Linked DNA regions of Homo sapiens: region 1 is linked to region 2. Evidence: promoter capture Hi-C in 16 types of primary human blood cells and fetal thymus (Javierre and others, 2016). All regions are on one chromosome and are shown on one strand. Each heading gives the region's core, a stretch centred on a gene start or on the middle of the fragment in contact. The rest is flanking DNA. Distances are from core to core; before and after follow the strand shown.

What was found. The method cuts DNA at HindIII sites, captures the fragments that hold promoters and counts their contacts. A CHiCAGO score of 5 or more calls a contact.
Region 1: a fragment that was not itself captured here is called in contact with the fragment with the promoter of CYTH1 in region 2 in 1 of 17 cell types (monocytes); the score reaches 5.9 in monocytes.

What each region holds. Positions count from the first base shown.
Region 1 is chr17:78,517,364-78,521,113 of GRCh38, reverse strand. All of the region lies in intron 25 of DNAH17 (dynein axonemal heavy chain 17), which reads left to right. Among named protein-coding and RNA genes, the nearest start is that of DNAH17-AS1, 34 kb to the right of the region's middle. The HindIII fragment of the contact is 2,111 bases long and covers 244-2,354 here.
Region 2 is chr17:78,780,759-78,784,373 of GRCh38, reverse strand. It overlaps CYTH1 (cytohesin 1), which reads left to right and starts at 2,101. Exons shown (of 14, transcript NM_004762.6): 1 at 2,101-2,172. The coding sequence starts at 2,151. RefSeq lists silencers at 1,842-2,001, 2,042-2,321, 2,582-2,981. The HindIII fragment of the contact is 19,906 bases long and covers 1-3,615 here.

The sequences.
Region 1 (3,750 bases), core at 50-2,549, 260 kb after region 2:
TAATTTATTTTGCATCTTTATCAAAAGTCAGTTGGGCACCTTAGACTGCTGCTGTTGATGGGTTCTGTGCTCTGTTCCATTGGTCTTCGTGTCTGTCCCTCCATGATACTGCACAGTCTTGATTCCTAGAGCAATCTAGTAAGGTTTGTTATCAGAGCGATTCCTCCCACTTTATCCTTTTTTGTCAAGATTGGTTTGCTCTTCTAGGACTTGTACTTTTCCATATAAATTTTAGAATAAGCTTGTTATGCTTATAAAAAAATAAAACCTTATTGGGGTTTTTATAGGAATTGCGTTAAAACTATTAATCAATTTGGAGAGAACTGACATGTTGACTCTGTCTCCCAGTCCATAACATAATGTATCTCTCCATTTATTTGGCTCTTCTTTGATTTTTTTGTGATTTCATTTTGTTATAGCATTTAAGATCCTATACATGTTTTGTTACATTTATACCTCATGTGTCTTTCCTTTTCTTTTTAGAAGTGATTGTATTAATAAGTGGCGTTGCATCTTAAATTTTGGTTTGCACATGTTTGTTTGGGTATATACAAATGTGAATAATTTTTATGTGTTTGTTTTTCTCTTGTGGCCTTGCTAAACTCACTTACTAGTTCTAGGATGGCTTTTTTAGACTCCTTAGGGATTTTGTACATAGACAATAATGTCATCTGCAAATAGGAACAGTTTTATTTTTCCTTTCCATTCTGTATGTCTTTTACTTCTCTTTCTTGCCTTATTGCAGTGGCCTGAACTTCCAGTACTCTGTTGAATAAGAGTGGTGAGTTCACACATCCTTGCATTGTTCCCAATCTAAGAGGAAAACCACTTTGCCATTATGTATATTAGCTGTAAGTTTTCAAATTGAGGAAATTCTATTCCTTTTCTTTTTATTCATCATGAACAGGTGTTAGATCTTGTCAAATTTTTTTGTGTTTACTGATATGATTGATTTTTGTTTAGTCTGCTAAGATAATTGATTACACTGACTTTTTTTTTCTTGAAACAGAGTTTCGTTCTATCGCCCAGGCCTGGAGTGCAGTGGTGTGATTTTGGCTCACTGCAACCTCTGCCTCCTGGGTTCAAGCGATTCTCCCACCTCAGCCTCCTGAGTAGCTGGGATTACAGGTGCCCACCACCACACCCAGCTAATTTTTTGTATTTTTAATAGAGACAGGGTTTCACTATGTTGGTCAGGCTGGTCTCAAACTCCTGACCGCAGGTGATCCACCCACCTCAGCCTCCCAAAGTGCTGGGATTACAGGCGTGAGCCACCATGCCCGGCCATTTCCATGAGATTTTTAGTTACAAATTCAATTTCTTTAATGGCCATACAGGCTTGTTCACGTTGGTCTGTTTCAAATTTGTGAAAATCTTGGTAGTGAATTTTGGTAGCTTGTGGTTTTTGAGGAATTGGTTTATTTCTTCTAAATTGTTTAATTCAAGCAAGCATAAAGTTGTTTATACTAGTTCCATACTATCCTCTAGATGGCTGCAAGCTCAGCAGTGGTATCTTCTATTTCATTCCTAGTGTTGGTGACTTATGTCTTCACTCTTCATCTTTGTCGGTCATAATAGAGGTTTATAAACTTTATTGATTTTTCAAAGAAAAAGATTTTTGTTTAACTTTTGTGCTGTTTTATTTTAAACTTCATCAGTTTCTGGTCTTTATTATTTTGTTCCTTCCTTTGCTTTGGGTTTATCTTGCTCATTTTCTAGTTTATTGAGGTAGAAACTTGGATTATTGATTTGAGACCTTTTCTCTTTTCTAAAGGAAACACTTCGTGCTATAAAATTTCCCTCTCTACATTAGCTGCGTCCCACGTATTTTGATATTACATTCAGTTCTGTGTGTTTTTTAATTTCTTTTGAGGCTTCCTCTTTGACCCATGGATGATTTAGAAGTATATTTTACATTTCTTTTTTTTTTTTTTTTTTTTTTTTTTGAGACGGAGTCTCGCTCTTTCACCCAGGCCAGACTGCAGTGGCGCTATCTTGGCTCACTGTAAGCTCCACCTCCTGGGTTCACGCCATTCTCCTGCCTCAGCCTCCCGAGTATCTGGGACTACAGGTGCCCGCCACCACGCCCGGCTAATTTTTTGTATTTTTAGTAGAGACGGGGTTTCACCATGTTAGCCAGAATGGTCTCGATCTCCTGACCTTGTGATCAGCCCACTTCGGCTTCCCAAAGTGCTGGGATTACAGGCGTGAGCCACCACGCCTGGCCTGTATTTTAAATTTCTAAGCGTTTAGAGATTTTCCTGTTTCCTTTCTATTATTGATTTCTAGTTTGATTCCATTATGGTCAAAGAACACACTGTATATAACTTTCATTATTTTAAATGTATTAAGCTTTATTTTATGGATCAGGATATAGTCTGTCTGGGGGAATGTCCCATGGGCACTTGAACAGAATGCGTATTCTGCTTCTGTTGGGCGGAGTGTTTTATACGTGTCAATTAGATCCTGTCAGTTGGTTGTGTTGTTCTGTCCTTTTATAGTCTTGCTAATTTTCTGTCTAGCAGTTCCATAAACTGCTGAGAGTGGGGTGCTGAAATCTCTCCAACTATAATTATAGATGTGTTTATTTCTCCTTTCAGCTCCATCAGTTTTTGCTTTGTGTATTTTGAGGCTCTGTTGCTTGGTGTGTACAGATTTGGGATTATTGTCTTCTTATAGGTTGACCCTTTTTCCCATTATGTAATGTTCCTTTTGTCTCTAGGAATTTTCTTTGCTCTAAGGTTGGCTTGATCTGATACTAGTATAGCTACTTCTGTTTTTTCTATTGTTTTTGACTAGTGTTCGTCCTGATCTTTCTCCATTTTTAAATTTTCAAGCTACCTATATTTTTGTGTTTGAACTGAGTTTCTTATATACAGCATATGATTGGGTCATGTTTTTTCGTCCACTCTGCCAGTCTCTGGCTTTTAATTGATCTGTTTAGACCATTTTGCATTTAAGGTAATTATTGTCATGTTACAGCCTATGTCTGCCATTTTGTTTTCTGTTTGTTCCCTTTGTTTCTTATTCCTCTGACTCTCTTTTATTTTAACATTTTTAGGATCCATCCTGATTTATTTAGAGTGATTCTGAACATAGCGCTTTATATAGTTTTCTTAGTGGCTGTTTGACAGTCACTGATATCAACATTTTGTCACTTTTGTGTGTAGAAACCTCACTTCCATTTAGATCTCTTTGCCCTCACCTCTGCCCCTCTTAACTATAACATAACTGTCTTATGTATTTCCTCAATATATGAGTAATCTTCCATGGTCTTGTTTGTTGTGATATGTCCAAGGTTTTTCAGTTGTAAGAGAGAGAAGCTGGAAGTAACAGGGCTGCTCCATCTTGGCAGAACTGAAAGAACTGACAACTTTTTAAAGAATGCCAGCAGGCTTTTTGTTTGGGTCAGATGCTAAGACAGCCCTGAGGAAATGGGAATTTGGGTAGGTTGTGGAGAGGGTGATATTCAGGGAGAAGAGGAGGCAATTCGGGAGCCTGGGAATTTGCCAAACGAGGGCAGTCTGGATCATGTCTCTGTAGGCTGCCATGTGGCCTCCTAGGCAGCAGAAAGATAAGGACAGGCCAAGTCTCAGTGTGTGAAGGGAGGCTGGACTCCAAGCACAGGGCCTCTTTTTCCCAAGTATTTCTTCTTCTGTGTGTGTGCATATGTTGGTTTCTGCCTTTCTGTCTCCTCGTCACTCATCTGTTTTCAAAAATAGTTGAACTCTTTCCTCTTTTACTTTTTTG
Region 2 (3,615 bases), core at 852-3,351:
ACTTCACCCAGCTGAAAAACACCAGTCTAATGGAACAATATAAGGGAACAGAATTTGTAAACAGTCATGTTCTCTGCTAATCTGTGATTAGCAGTAATACCAGTATCCCTCCCTCTCCAAATCTATTCAGTTGGTGAGTTCAGCTAAGAGGTCTAGAGTGCTGATAGTAAGAATTAACATGCCATCTGAATCGCTTTTCTTCTGGAGTTCTGGTCTTTGAGCAAGAGCTGAGGTGGTCTGGGACTTGCATACTGATAAGGGAAGAAAGCCAGCTCGAAGATACCTTGAACCTTCTGGTGAGTCTGGGGTTAGAAGTGAAGTAGGGAGTGAAACAGAGGATGGCAAATACTGGGGGAGAGGCTCAGTGCTCCATTAGCCCATGTGACAGATGGTTTGAGAAGATTTGCCAGGTCAATGTGGGGTCAATTCTAAAAGTGTCCTAAGTCTAGGCCAAGAGGAACAAAATGCAGCTGGGTCTCTGACCTCACACGCCGAAGCCCAAGGACACGTTAGGGCCAAAATGTGACTCTCTAAGGTCACCTGTAAAACTGGACAATCTGGTAAAGTCAGTGAAGGTTAAGATCATGAATCCAGCCAGGCGTGGTGGCTCACGCCTGTAATTCCAGTACTTTGGGAGGCCAAGGAAGGAGACCAAAGAGAAAGGATCACTTGAGCCTAGGAGTTCGAGACCAGCCTGGGCAACCTAGCAACCTCCGTCTCTACAAAAAATACAAAAATTAACCAGGTATGGTGGCCGGTGCCTGCAGTCTCAGCTACTCAGGAGGCTGAGGTGGGAGAACTGCTTGAGCCTGGGAAGCAGAGGTTGCAGGGAGTCATGATGGTGCCACCGTACTCTAGCCTGAGCAACACAGCGAGTGAGACTCTGTCTCAAAATGAATAAATAAATAAAAGAAAAAGAAAAATAGTAAAACTCAGGACAGGTGGGCCCACAAGGAAAGAGTTCTGTGGCTTTTACTCCCGTTTTTTGGTTGGTCCAAAAAATTCCCAGCAGTCCAGGGATCTCTGTGGAGTTCTCAGTGAGTGTTCTGTGTAGGGTGCAGGAGCCACAAGTGACTGCAGGGGGAAAGGGGGGTTCTGGTGCTGGCATTCTGCAGCAGTGGGATTGTCCTCTGTCATAAAGAAAGAGAAGGCCGAGCGCGGTGGCTCATACCTGTAATCCCAGCACTTTGGGAGGCCGAGGCAGGCGGATTATTTGAGGTCAGGAGTTCGAGACCAGCCTGGCCAACATGGCGAAACCCCGTCTCTACTAAAAATACAATTAGTCGGGCCTGGTGGCACATGCCTGTAATCACAGCTACTCAGGAGGCTGAGGCAGGACAATCGCTTGAACCCGGGAGGCGGAGGTTTCAGTGAGCCGAGATCGGGCCACTGCACTCCAGCCTGGGCAACAAGAGCGAAACTCGTCTCCAATAAATAAATAAAATCCAAAACGCTGGGACTTGAAGTGCCCTCCTTTCAATCTTGACCCAGGTAAAACTCAGGACAAATAAAAAGAAGTAGAAGCAGTAAACTTAGGACATACAGCATGTAAAGGTTCTGAACGCAGGAGTAAATGACTTCAAATAGCTTTTGTGGCCTTTCGCCAAGGACCGGGCCCTCCCTGGCAAGCTGGGGCCGGGTCTGACCTTCCAGGTTGGCGTCAGCAAGGACCACCCTGCCCTTCAGTGGCCGGACACGACCTTGGGCTTTCGTGCAGTAGCCTGGCTGCAGGCCAGGTCGAGTCCGCCACCCCGGGGACTTGCACCGCCCTTCAGAAACCGAAACCTGCTCGGCCCCAGGAGGCGGACCGGGAGAAGGGGGGGGGGTGTGTGTGTCTCGGGACGGGGGCGTGGTCTAGAGGCGGGGGCAGGGGAGGAGCCTCGGGTGGACGCGCGTGCGCAGGCCGGAGCCTCGGGAGGAGGCCGGGTACCCGGGGTGCGGCGCGCGCGGGAGGAAGGCGGGGCCTCGGGCGAGGGGCGGGGCCTCGGGCCGGGGGCAGGGGGCGGGCGCAGGCGCAGGCGCGGGCGGGCGGGGCGCGGGGCGCGGGGCGCCGGGGGCGGGGCTCCGAGCCGGGCTGAGGCGAGCGGGGGCGCGGGTGGCGCGGCGGGACGCGAGCGGCGAGCCGGAGCGCGGAGCCCGGCTCCCGCACCATGGAGGAGGACGACAGCTACGGTCAGTGCGCCCCGGCGGCGGACGCTTCCCCCTCGCTGTCCCCCAGTCCCCTCCGGGCCCGGCCGTCCGGCAGCGCTTGCGGCGGCTGGCGTTTCCCGGGGACACTGGTGCGGGACGCGGAGCCCGGGGCGACCGGCGGGCGAGCGGTGCGCGGGGCCCTCGCGGGGCGGGGGTCGCAGGGGGTTTTGAGGGATGAGGGTCGCCGGGGCCGGGGTCGCTGGCGGCGCTGAGGGATGTGGGTGGCTGGGGCGGGGGTCACAGGCCGGGCTCGCGGTCTCGCGGGGCCAGGGGTCGCCGCGAGCTCTGAGGAATGAGGGTCGTTGGGGTCGCGGGGCAGGATCTCAGGGGCTCTGAGGGATGAGAGTCGTTGGGGTCGCTGGGGTCCCCGGGGCAGGGGTCGCAGTCCGGGTCCCGGGGGGCCGAGGGGTGGAGGTCGCTGGCCCTGCCGCCCCTCTGCGGGGCTCGGGGCGGACGCGCGGATGGCCGGGCCCGCGTTCCCCGCAGTTTCCGGCCGCTCTCGGCGTCAGCGAGTTGTGCCCGGTCCACGTCTTTGTTCAGAAATGAGAACGGGGAGCGGCGCCGCCGGCGAGGCGCGGGCTCCGGGACGGCCCTGCCCGCGGGAGTCTGGGCCCGGTAGCCGCCGGTCCGGTGCGTCGCCGCCTGCCGAGACGCGGGTGTGGAGCCCGAGGGGCACCGCGGTGGGGACGCCGCTCCTCCCCTGACTGGGGACTTGGCAAGCGGAGCCGCTGTCCCGCTCCCTTCGCTCCCGCGCGTTGAGGCTGCTGGCCCAGGCCAGGGGTGCCTCCCTCCAAGAGTTTGAAATTGCAAGGGTTGCAAAAGGTTGTTTGACATGCTGTAGTTAATTTATTAAGTTTGTTCATGAGGAATTAAAAGGAAGAATGGCAAATAGAACAAGTGGTGAACTTTTGTGGTTTGGTAGCAAAGTACAAATAAAGCAGAACTCTGTGGCCAAATGGAACCCAATTCTAGTTTAATAACTAATGGGACATTTTTCTTTTTTTTTTTTTTTTAAGAGACGAGATCTCGCTCTGTCACCCAGGCTGGAGCACAGTGGCGTGATCGTAGCTCACGTCAGCCTCTTGAGTGGCTGGAACCATACGCACGCCACCATGCCCGGCTAATTTTTTATTTTATTTTATTTTATTATTTTATTTTATTTTATTTTATTTTTGAAACGGAGTCTCACTCTGTCGCCCAGGCTGTAGTGCAGTGGCGCCATCTCGGCTCACTGCAACCTCGGCCTCCTGGGTGAGCTGAGCGATTCTCCTGCCTCAGGCTCCTGAGTAGCTGGGACTACAGGCGCGTGCCACCACGCCTGTCTAATTGTTGTATTTTTAGTAGAGACAGGGTTTTGCCATGTTGGCCAGGCTGGTCTTGAACTTCTGACCTCAGGTGATCCACCCGCCTCGGCCTCCCAAAGTG